Regions from separate parts of the Homo sapiens genome. Here all the other regions are linked to region 3. The links are contacts of gene promoters, found by promoter capture Hi-C in blood cells and fetal thymus (Javierre and others, 2016). All regions are on one chromosome and are shown on one strand. Each heading gives the region's core, a stretch centred on a gene start or on the middle of the fragment in contact. The rest is flanking DNA. Distances are from core to core; before and after follow the strand shown.

Region 1 (3,589 bases), core at 294-2,793, 890 kb before region 3:
ACAAAAATTAGCCAGGTGTGGTGGCACCAGCCTGTAATCTCAGCTACTCGGGAGGTTGAGGCATGAGAATCGCTTGAACCTGGGAAGCGGTGGTTACAGTAAGCCGAGATCACACCACTGCACTCCAGCCTGGGCAACAGAGACTCTGTCTCAAAAAAATAAATAAATAAATAAAGTCACAAAAAATCTCGCAATGTTTTAAGAAAGTTTACAAATTTGTGTTGGGCCACATTCAAAACCGTGGCCTGTGCGGGTTGGACAAGTTTGGAATAAAGCATAATGCTTGATTGCAATTACATGAAGTTTAAGAGTAGACACAACTCATACTTGGTAATTTAAGTCCAAATGAATAGTGGTTACCTCTGGGGAAGTACTACTGACCGGAAGGAGCAGTTGGAAACCTGGGGTGATGGAAATGTTCTAGATCTTGACCTAGGGGCTAATGACATGTGTATACATATGTAAAACTTCACCCAGCTGTCCTCTTAATTTCTGTGCGATTTATTGTGTGTAAATTATATCAGTTAGGAAAAAATAAGAAAAATGAAGGAATGATGGAGAAAAAAAGAAATGAAGAGAAACGTAACGAAGGAAGAAAGAAGGGAGGAAGGGAGGGAGGGAGAGAGGAAGGGGGGATTAAACCCAAGCACGGAGGGGGAGAGATGCTCCTCAAAAATATGCTATCAGTCATGTAGTGTTATTTATTTATTTATTGAGATGGAGTCTCGCTCTGTTGCCCAGGCTGGAGTGAGTGGCACGATCTCGGCTTACTGCAACCTCCACCTCCCAGGTTCAAGAGATCCTCCTGCCTCAGCCTCCCGAGTAGCTGCCATTACAAGCACACGCCATGGTGACCGGCTATTATCTGCATCTTAAAGATGGGGAAAGTTTGAGGTTTCCTGATGTGTTCAGCGTCACAGACTGGGTGAGTGACTCAAGCTGAGGCTAAAACCCAGGTGTGTAGGGCACCAAAGCCTTTGTGATTCCACCTCCTACAGCTCAGGTCACTTCCTCGGAGAAAGGTGACTCCTAGAAATGCCTCCCACCTGGAACTGATCTCCTCCTGGGAAGAACGTCTGTCTTATCGCCGTCGACCTTAGGCATGGACACCCTTCTGTCCCCCACCCACAACTGTGAGCCTGCTCAGGAGGCACAGCCGCGTTCATTCATTTTAGGCCTCCTCAAGGGCTCAGCGCCTGCTAAGCAGATGCGCGTTCCTGTAGGACAAGGGGTGGCCACTGGAGACGCGGGTGCGACGCAGGCGATCACGCCCTCGGACGACGCTGCGGACTGCGCTTCCTTCCGAAGAGGGAACCGTTGAGAAGAGTGAAGCGATGAGTTATGCCTCACTGGAAACCAACCGCGTCCGTGTGACTCACTTAGAAACTCACTGTTACATATTTGGAGCCTGAGCTGACGACCTTCCGGGTACACGTCAGGCAGAAGCAGGTGCGCGGTGGGAGTGTCCGCCCCGCCCCGCCGGTCGCGCCGGCCCCGCCCCCCTCACCTGCGCGCGCAACCCCACCCCAGCGCGAGGCTCTGCACCGGCCGCGCCCGCCATCCAGCTTTTATATGGCGCTATTTTGGTCGCGCGCCCTGATTGGCCGGGAGCGGGCGACGACACGCTCGCGCGCCTCAGGGAGGGGCCAAGATCTGGGGGAGGGGAGCTTCTGGCAGCCGCGCGGATCCGGGGGCGGCGGGGCGGGACTGCTGCGGTCTCTGGGGGTGCTTTGGGGCTTCTGTGCCTAGTCTGCAATCTGTTAGTGGGGTTATATTTTAATAAAAGAGCTTGTGTGTCCGAAGGGGATTTGCCAAGAACCAAACTCACCCTTCTGGGAGGGAGTTGCCAGATGGCGGGAACAGGCGGCGTAAACCTTACCAGACGTGAGCCCAGGCTGCTCAAGTGTCATTCGCGTCTTGAAGCTCTTGCCCGCCTCCCTTTGCAAGCGCGTCTAATGCCAACTCTACCTTGCCCTTTGCTAAACCAGCCCTCTAATGTGTTATCGTGCCTCACGTCAGACAATGGCTGGGCCTGTCTCTCTTTCCCCTTGGTTCTGTCCTCTGCCCTTCTCTTAAGCCAGAAGAACAAAACACTCCTTAGAATCGCTGGAGGATCTCATTTCCACCACATTCCCGTGTCCGGAGCCGAAGAGCCACGTCTGACCCTCACTGGTCTGGCTGTCCACCAATCAGGCAGCATTGCTTCTCTGAGTCTCAAGGTTATTAAATTTCTTCTGGTGGCAGACTGGTTTTGTACTTTGGTGAAAGTGACCAAATAGGTACGAAGTGTGATTCATCAAAAATTCTTACACTTAAAAAGATAAGCCAAAAGGATCATTCGAAGCCACCACTCCATATTAGATGGGAACTTAGCTTGAAAGGGGTTCTCTTAAGGATTTCTATTTACTTCTTTGAATTACAAATATCATCTCTGGTTGGAAAGCCTATAAACGCCTCTGAGATTTCCTGAGTTCACAACTTTGAAGATCATTTGCAGCTGGATGCAGAAAAAACAAACCTAGTAATTGTTGAATGTGGACATCAATAAGAATTAAGTACTTTTGGCCCAAAGGCAGTGGTTCACACCTGTAATCCTAGCACTTTGGGAGGTCGAGGCAGGAGGATAACCTGAGGTCAGGAGTTCCAGACCACCCTGGCCAACATGGTGAAACCCCATCTCTACTAAAAATACAAAAATTGGGTGGGCGTGTTGGCGCATGCCTGTAATCCCAGCTACTCAGGGCTGAGGCACCGAATTGCTTGAACCCAGGAGGCAGAGGCTGCAGTGAGCAGAGATCATGTCACTGCACTCCAGCCTGGGCGGCAGAGCAAGACTTGTCTCCAAAAAGAACTTTCAATGTGCCAGGCATTTTAAATGCTTAACAGGCATTTCATTTAATCCTCACAAAATCCCCATGACTTAGATACTATTATTATACCCATTTTACAGAAAGGGTCTAGAAAGCTTGCATAACATTGTGTCTGGACTTGGTTCCTGCCAGTGGGTTCGTGGTCTCAGTGACTTCAAGAATGAAGCCACAGACCTTCGCGGTGAGTGTTACAGCTCTTAAAGATGGCCGGGACCCAAAGAGTGAGCAGTAGCAAGGTTTATTGTGAAGAGCGAAAAAGCTTCCACAGCATGGAGGAGGACCCAAGTGGGATGCCGCTGCTGGCTGGGGTGGCCAGCTTTTATTCCCTTATTGTCCCCACCCATGTTCCATTTCTATCCTATCAGAGTGCCCTCTTTTTCAATCCTTCCCGTGACTGGCTACTTTTAGAATCCTGCTGATTGGTGCGTTTTACAATCCTCTTGTAAGACAGGAAAGTTCCCCAAGTCCCCACTGGACCCAGGAAGTCCAGCTGGCCTCACCTCTCAACATGACTCATGCAACACATTAGTACCATGGCAGTGCCGGGATTCACACCCAAGGTTGTCTGACTCCTGTGTGCCCTTAACTACTAAGCTCTGCAGTTTCTTCTTTCCTAACCAGAAACTTAGTCTTAAGCGGGCCCAGAAGGAGTTGGGATCACTACCAGGTGTTACAAATCTTCAGGAAGACATTTGTCCTGCTGCTGGTTTAAGAAAAGG
Region 2 (3,728 bases), core at 989-3,488, 600 kb after region 3:
ATCCCGCGCAGCAGCTGCCGCCTCGGGACACGCTCATTCCCACGGCCACCGGCAAGCCACTCCTGGCGACTCCCCGGGACCTGAGGAGCCGCGGCGCGGAGGTGACCCTCCCCGGCCTGCGCCTCCCTTCTTCCTCCTCCCCAGCTGGGCGCGTGGTCGCGTCGCCCGGGGACTCTGGTGATGCCCGAGAAATGGGCTGGGGGTGCCGGGTGCCAGGATGGGGTGGGGCGGCCCTAGGCCGGCCTGACTTCGGGACCGGGCTGCGGGCGAGGGTCTCGGGGCCCGGCTCGGCCGGCTTCCGGGCCGAGAAAGAAGGGCAGAGGAAGCGGTCAGGGTCCCCTCCGGCCCCGGCCTCCCTCCCGGAGTATAAGCCCTTGGAGGCCAGGTTTTGGGTTGCTGCCGCCCAGCTCTTTCGGTCTCCACTTCTCCCCACGGACGTTTACAGCTGCTCGCTTTATTTCTCCCTCCATTCCCCCGTGGAGCCCCCTCGGCAGCGGAGGGGTCGCGTGCTTCTCCTCTCCCGCCTGCGCCTCCCCCCTTCCCACCCGACAGCCCAGGAGGAGCTGCGGGCGCGGCCCTGGGACGGCCGGAGCCTGGGGCTTCTGCTCGCTCGCGCCCTCCCAGGCGTTGCCGCGGGTCCGAGCCCCCGCAGAGGTGGGCATAGCCCCGGGGCCGCAGAAAACGAAGGCAGCTGGGCAGGGATGCTCAATTTCCCGAGCCCCACTTTCCTTTCACAGCCCACTGGGATGTGTAGTTCTTCCGCCCGCAGGCCTGCGCCGAGGAGAAGCACGACTCGGGGCCTTAGAAACTACAAGTCCCTGCATCCCCCGCGACAAGGGCAGGAGAGGCGTGGTGCTGGGCGTTCTGGGGCTAGGTGGTGGGAGATGGGAACCAACAAAGGGGGTTGTGGGGAACGGTGCCTTCTCTGTACTGGGCAGTTTGCACGTTACACATGTTCTTTGTCTAATCTTCGCCGGAACCCGGTGAGGCATTATTGTATCCAGCTTAGAGAAAGCTTAACTACTGGCCAAACATCACAAAGCTCCCAAGTAGTAGAGATGGCATCGAACCCAGAGCCCTAAGTATGTCCCTTACAAAGCGTGCCTCAGTGAGGAGTGTCGAAGGGGGATGAGATTGGCTTATCCAAGAGGGCCAGTTGGGAGGAGCTGTGGTAAGGAAAAAGTGATGGGAATAGCAATTAGAGTATGACATGCAATTACAAGGAGTTTTGAATACAAGTGAAATTTACAGGGGTCCATTCCAAAGCCGGTTAGAGTCTAGGGAGAATGGATCTTAAGCACACGATAATAATTGGGTTTTAATTATTTTAGATATTGTATGAGAGACAAGCATATTACAGGGACAATTAAGTATTTGTGGCTGGACTAGTTTTAAAAAACCAACTGGAAAGCTTCATACATTTCAAGTGAAAGCTCTCATATGCTTTCCTGTCCTTTAGCTAATGAGATCAACGGGGTATTATTCTTATTCTGTTTATTGCAAGCACCTTTTCTGTGGGTGTCCAATTAATATAATAGATCCATTGATTTGATGGCATTAAAAAAGACTCCCACTCTTATTCTCAATGAAACCGAATTTTTCTGGCATTATGGTTATGCTTTTAAAAAGTCCTTCCTTGTCTGTTAGAGATATGTACTAAAGTATCTGCCAGCGAAATAATATAAAGTCTGAAATGTGCTTTAAAACACACCAGCCCATCCACTCCCCTCCTCCCACCCACCCAGCTCCAGACATGGAGGTATAAATGAAACAATTGGAAACTGTTGAAAATAGTTGACCTTGGGTGACATGTACTTGTACTTAATTATTTATTGCTGCAAATTGCCACAAACGTAGTGGCCTTAAAACAAGACAGATTTTTCTCACAGTTTTTATGGATCAGGTGTCCAGGTACACTCAGTCCCCCACTTAGGGTCTCACGCCTGCCATCAAGGGGCTGGCCAGGCTGCGTTCACATTCACTGGAGAAGAACTGGCTTCCACTCTGACTCCGGGCACAGGCAAAATTCCTTTCCTTGCAGCAGTAGGACCGAGGGCCCTGGCTTCTTGCTGGCTGGAGACTGGAGACTGTCCTCAGCTCCAAGAGGGAACCTGCAATTCCTAGAGGTTACCTGGACTTCATTGTCACTTGGGCTTTCCGAGCACAGCCACTTATTTTGTCAGGCCTGCAAGGAGAGTCCCCAGAGTGAGTCTCCAGCAAGACAGAATTTTATATAACATAAAGCAATCCCACGGGGGCAACTTCAAATGTGAACATTCTGTTGGCCAGAAAGCATGTTTTGCACACACTCAAAGGGAGAGGAGTACACAGGGCATGAACCCTAGGGTGAGGGACACCCCGGAGTGCATCCACCACAGTGTACATGAGAGTCCATTATGCTTTTCTTACCTACCACATCTACTCATGTTTATGTTTGACATTTTCCATAATAAAAAGAAATGAATTCGTTTTAAAATGTTACCTAAAGTTTCCACAGCAAATAAGATATGCTGATATGATTTCTAAATAGCTGATACAATTGTCTGTAGTTGTCTTCCAGGGGATAACTTTTTTCTTCCCACTCCATGTGTACTAAGACCTCTGCGGTTAATTCACTTGTATGGGTTACCCTCCCCTAAGAGCGTTCACTAGAACCTGGTGTGTGATAGCTGCAGAGTTCACCTCACCAGCTACAGTTGATCTTGAACAATATGGGTTTGAACAGCGTGGATGCCCTTAGACACGGATTTTTTTCAACCAAATGCAGATGGAAAATACAGCATCCGTGGGATGGGAAATGCGAGTATTCAGAGGGCAAAGGCCCACTCTTCCTATATGCAGGTTCTGTGGAGCCTGTTTAAGGACCTGAATATGTGCAGATTCAGGTATACGCAGGTGATCCTGGAACCAATCTCCTGAGGATACTGAGGGATGACTGTAAAACCTACTGTATAAGGGATGGTAGAGTTTATTCATTTATTTTACAGTTATCTATTTCAGGGCCTAGATTGTGCTAAGTACTGTTTTAGCAGCAGTGATACAAAAAGATCCAAGATAGAAGCTTATATTTGGGGACTGGGGGAGAGGTGGAGAGAATAAACAAATAAATAAATGACTAGTAAGACAATTTCAGAGAGTAATTACAAGAACGAAAAAACAAAGCAGGGTTATGGGATGGAGAGACTGGGGTCGGGCAGAGAATCGAATGATGGGAAGGGGCAAGTACCAAGTCCTCAAGGCAGAACAACCTGGAAAATTCTAGGGGTACAAAGAAAAACCAGTCTGGCTGGAGTGGAGCGAGGGCCAGGGAGAGAGGGAAAAAGGAACAGGAATTCATTCTGTGTGCACCAGCATCAATTCTGTATGCCACACTCTGTACCCACCATCGGTGTAAGTGTTGAGGGGTCTGAAAGAAAAATCACCGTCCTTGCCCTCCAGGAATGTATAGATTCCAAACTTTAATGCTAGAGGGACGTCAGCGTATCTAGAATTAGAGACCAAAACTTGTATTTCTCAAACAAGGACACTGAAAAGTCAAAAGACCTGCTAAAAATTCCTTGAGAATGCCTCGCCAATAACAAATAATCCAAAAATGAGTCTTGAATTGAATTGAAAGAGTGCATGATCTACTTTTGCTAAATGGGGTTTAGCCTAATACTGCCTCTTTACATATTTTAAGTTTGGCCTAAAGGTTTCTCTGTACACTGAACTGTAGCCTAAATGGAAGT
Region 3 (3,802 bases), core at 705-3,204:
TTCTACTGAAAAATGAATGCTAGGTTAAATGACAAATGTGGACTGCACATGAGTTGAAGACGAGCCAATTCCTTTCTTACATTCTCTGTTCTAAAATCTGGTATACTGTAATCACCACCGTGATGTAAATCTCAGCCCAAACTTCAGCTCCTAATGGAAAATATGCACTACATTACTGTCATTAATCATTTTTAAATCTTCACTTTTGAAAAAATAAAATCTCTTTTTTCTAAGCTGCTTCAAAGAATTCTTGAATGTGTATGAACTTGGCTTAATGTTGCCGTAATCCAACTGAAGGACATCTTAATCTATTTGATGAAACAGTAGTTTTGTACCATGAAATTACTCTTTCGCTTCCGATAAATGTGGTATGAAGTAGACATCTAAAATGGAATGGAAATTTCTGTGGTTTTCTTTCAAGGCCACACCAAATAACCAAACTTAGACTCTTCAGGACAGCACAAATTAGAATAATCTGAAAATAACTTAATCTACAATTCACTGCCTACTTTTGATGCTGAGACTACTGGAGACATTGTTTCAGTAATCAAGTGACTGAGAACAAGCTGGATAAATGCATGTTAATGAAATGATTAGGGAATCAGAAATAGGAGAGATAGTCCTTCCAAGACATACATCCGAACGGGAGTCGATGCATACAAATGTGAAAAGAAGGCTAGAGGCATCTACAAAGCAGCCTGCTGCATTTGCCGACCACCTCAAGTACGAGTGACCCCGGGCTGCACCTTGTTTAGCTAGGAATACCGGCAAGCTGTTACAGCTGGACGCCTAGTGGTGGGAGCTTACTCTCGGGTGTCCACATTTAGAAGTCTAACAATCAGACCTGGTTTCACGTGCTTTGGTGCTACCCAGGTTTTCCTTATAATGGTTAGCACAAAACAAGGGACCCAGGTTAGCGATACCAGGAAGCCACGCATTGAATGACATTACAGAAACAGCCACATAAAAGTCAGGTGGATGGTGTCACCTTGGCAAGCAACTTAGCCTCTTTAGGCCTCAGTTTGCTCATCTGCAAAATGGGGATAATAATAGCTTTTTAGTAGAATTGTGAGAATTAAGTGAGATCACGTACTAAAGCCCATAGCACAATGCCAGTTTCAAGGCTTCTGAAGTCCATAGGTGAAATTCGCTGGCTTGGCAGGATCTAAGACAGCATAAAGGTCATGGTATATTTGTTTACAAGTTCTATAAATTGCAGCACCGATGCTTCTCGACCAAGTATTTACGTGGGACAAAGCTGCCATCAGCGGTTTCTCCAGAGCCTATGTTTTGGGGCTTTTGTCCCCATCCCCTCCAGGAGTGGAGCCGCCAACACAAACCAAAGGGCAATCACTGGTTTCATCAACAGGTGCAAAAGAAAAGGCGCCAGGCACAGGGTCAGGCCGGCTAAGTCAACACCCCGGGATCCTCATGAATACGCAAAGCGCCCCAGCCGGCTATCCAGCAACCATATCCTCTGGCGGCGCGGGCCGGAGATCCCCGTGGAGGGGCGGCCGGCCTCCGTGCGCCACCGGCCCAGCCAGAGTGCTCTCTCGAGTCCCCAGCCCCACTTCATTCAAACAGCCACCCCTCTGCGCGCGACCCCTACGCCCCGGCAGTCCCAGCGCCGCCCGATCCCCTCGGGAAGGGGGGGTACCCGTCTTCCCGAGGCTGGGCGAATGCGGGCGCCCTCTCCTCCGGGCGTCGCTGCCCCCGGCCCGGACTCACCCAGCGTGGCCACCGTGCCGGCCTCGAACAGCAGGCAGTCGTCGCGGCCGCGCGCCTCCAGCAGCACGCTACAGTCCCCCTCGGCCCCCAGGCGCCCCAGCAGCCGCAGCCCTTTGCTCAGGGCCATGAGGGTCGGGCCCACTGCGGGCGGGGGCCGGGGCCACGTCCTCCCGAGGGCGCGCTGCCCGCGACAGCTCCCCGCGCGCCCGCAACTTGCCAGAGTTTCACTTTGCGCCGCCGCTCCCGCCGCGCCAGGCTCCTCCCCGGCCTCCTCCCCTTCCTCCTCCTCCCCACTCGCGCCTCCCCAGCCTGGGGCAGGTGAGGGCGCGCCGCCGCCTCCCGCCCGGCCCCGCGCTCCCCCCAGCGGCCAGGCAGCTGCGCGAGGCCGCGCCCCGGGGCTGAGGCTCCCCGCAGGCGGGCGTGGAGCGGAAGAGCCTCCCGGATGCCACGCATTCCTCGCTGCGGAGGAGGATGCCCCGCGCGGGGCGACCCCGGGAGCCTGGCTGCGATGCCGGCCGCCCGCAGCCTTATATGGGCAGCCCGGCCCGGGAGTCCGCCAGGCTGGACCCGCTGACTGTTCCCGCCGGGGGCGCTGCGCCTCCCTGTGTGGTCGGCTCCTGCGACCCTGGACGAGTCCTTTCGACCCTGCGTGCCTCGGTCTCCCTGCGGGGAAGCGGGGTCATAACTGCGCCTACTTCGGCGCGGAGGCCTGAGTTAATTCGCGGAGGCGCTTAGCGGGTGCGGAGCGCGTGGAGCGGGCTGGAGAAAGGTTACCTTTCACTAGCGTTCTATCCCGGAGGCTGTTGCGGTCACCGACCCCGCCAGGGAGAGGTGTTGGGGGTCAACGGTGCGTTGTCGCGAAGAGACCTGGAGCCGTGATCCCCAGACCACGACCCCCACTTACCACGTGACCCTGACTTCTCTGCGCTCCACCTTCCTCTCCTGTCAGATGGTGACAGCGCCTCTCCCACCGGCTCTGGACACCGGCACGTGTCCGCGCGTGTACGCTGGAGTGTGTGGCCCGGCCTTCTGGCGCGGGGTTCTAGCGCCCAGGCTTGGCCTGTCAGAGCTGCAGGGGAGGTGGGGTGGGTATGGGTGTTTAGGGCTGAGTTGGAGTCACTCTTTGGGGTGGTTTGGCGGCTTAATTCCCTTCGCTTGTGATGGGTACGTGAGGATGGCCCGAGAAGCCTCCATCAGCTGTTTCCATCCTGCCCGCAAACGAACTCAGTTCCTCTCTCACCCCATTCTGCTGTACTGGGCCAAGCTGTTTGTCTCTGGGACTTGTCCTAGAAAGGGCAGAGCCCCCAGAGCCAAGCAGAACACTGCCATGCCCCTGCAGACATTCAGTAATGACCAGACAAGCCATCCTCAGGGGACAACCTCTCAGGTGATGGTTGGGTAATAAATTTGAACAACCCCAGCAGAGATTATCTTGACCCTTAGCCCCTTTCCTTGCCCACAAACTCTGCCCAGGTCAAGCATGATGTGCTCAATATCCCAGGCATGATGCTCATCAGCTGTCCGAGCAGCTTCTTTCTGTGTAGATGGAAACATTACTACCTCATGAAAACAGTGTGCCCATTCAGTGAGGCAGATCAGCCTTTGGCCCACTTTTTGACCTGAAACTCACTTCTTCCAGGAAGCTTTCCTGGAATGCTGAGGTCCCAGATAATAGTGCTTATATAACACCCAGATTTACAGACTTCAGTTCTCACCTACTCATATGTTGCTTGAGAAGTGTTTTTATGTTTTCTCTTAGCCCTGTTTTGCAAATTGAGTGGTAAGGCCTTAGGGAGGGGACCCAGTCTTCCATTTATCTCTCTCTCCTCTTTCCTAACTAGCATCATATAGTCTAAAGTCCTGCACAGTGGCATGCCATACCTATTTTAGAAATTTTCCTGCAGTCAGGACCAGCAGTTGAGCCTCACAGCTTATAGAATCCAAGTCACCATCAACTGTAAAATGAACCACTATTTTATGTACCACTGAGAAAAAAAAAAAAACTTCCAATTAAACTAGAACATGCCACCAATAGTCATCTCTGCCCTGATTTAGACAATGTTAAAATGCACGT

Evidence for each region. The method cuts DNA at HindIII sites, captures the fragments that hold promoters and counts their contacts. A CHiCAGO score of 5 or more calls a contact.
Region 1: a contact is called between the fragment with the promoter of LINC02901 here and the fragment with the promoter of SYNJ2 in region 3, in 5 of 17 cell types (fetal thymus, non-activated CD4 T cells, naive CD8 T cells and 2 more). The highest score is 10.6, in fetal thymus.
Region 2: a contact is called between a fragment that was not itself captured here and the fragment with the promoter of SYNJ2 in region 3, in 1 of 17 cell types (fetal thymus). The highest score is 5.8, in fetal thymus.

The regions. Positions count from the first base shown.
Region 1 is chr6:158,867,768-158,871,356 of GRCh38, reverse strand. LINC02901 (long intergenic non-protein coding RNA 2901) reads right to left here and starts at 1,543. Exons shown (of 3, transcript NR_160980.1): 1 at 1,380-1,543. RefSeq lists enhancers at 550-1,223, 1,154-1,323, 1,224-1,896, 1,897-2,569 and a silencer at 1,404-1,723. The HindIII fragment of the contact is 6,622 bases long and covers 1-2,967 here.
Region 2 is chr6:157,377,165-157,380,892 of GRCh38, reverse strand. It overlaps LOC124901446, which reads left to right. Exons shown (of 1, transcript XM_047419644.1): 1 at 1-1,579. The coding sequence starts at 192. The coding sequence ends at 1,082. Among named protein-coding and RNA genes, the nearest start is that of ZDHHC14, 2.2 kb to the left of the region's middle. RefSeq lists enhancers at 1-155, 767-1,379 and silencers at 1-325, 486-565. The HindIII fragment of the contact is 1,650 bases long and covers 1,414-3,063 here.
Region 3 is chr6:157,980,015-157,983,816 of GRCh38, reverse strand. It overlaps SYNJ2 (synaptojanin 2), which reads right to left and starts at 1,954. Exons shown (of 27, transcript NM_003898.4): 1 at 1,729-1,954. The coding sequence starts at 1,855. RefSeq lists enhancers at 1,673-2,188, 2,389-2,438, 2,459-2,648, 2,189-2,704, 2,669-2,718 and a silencer at 1,689-2,268. The HindIII fragment of the contact is 11,440 bases long and covers 1-3,373 here.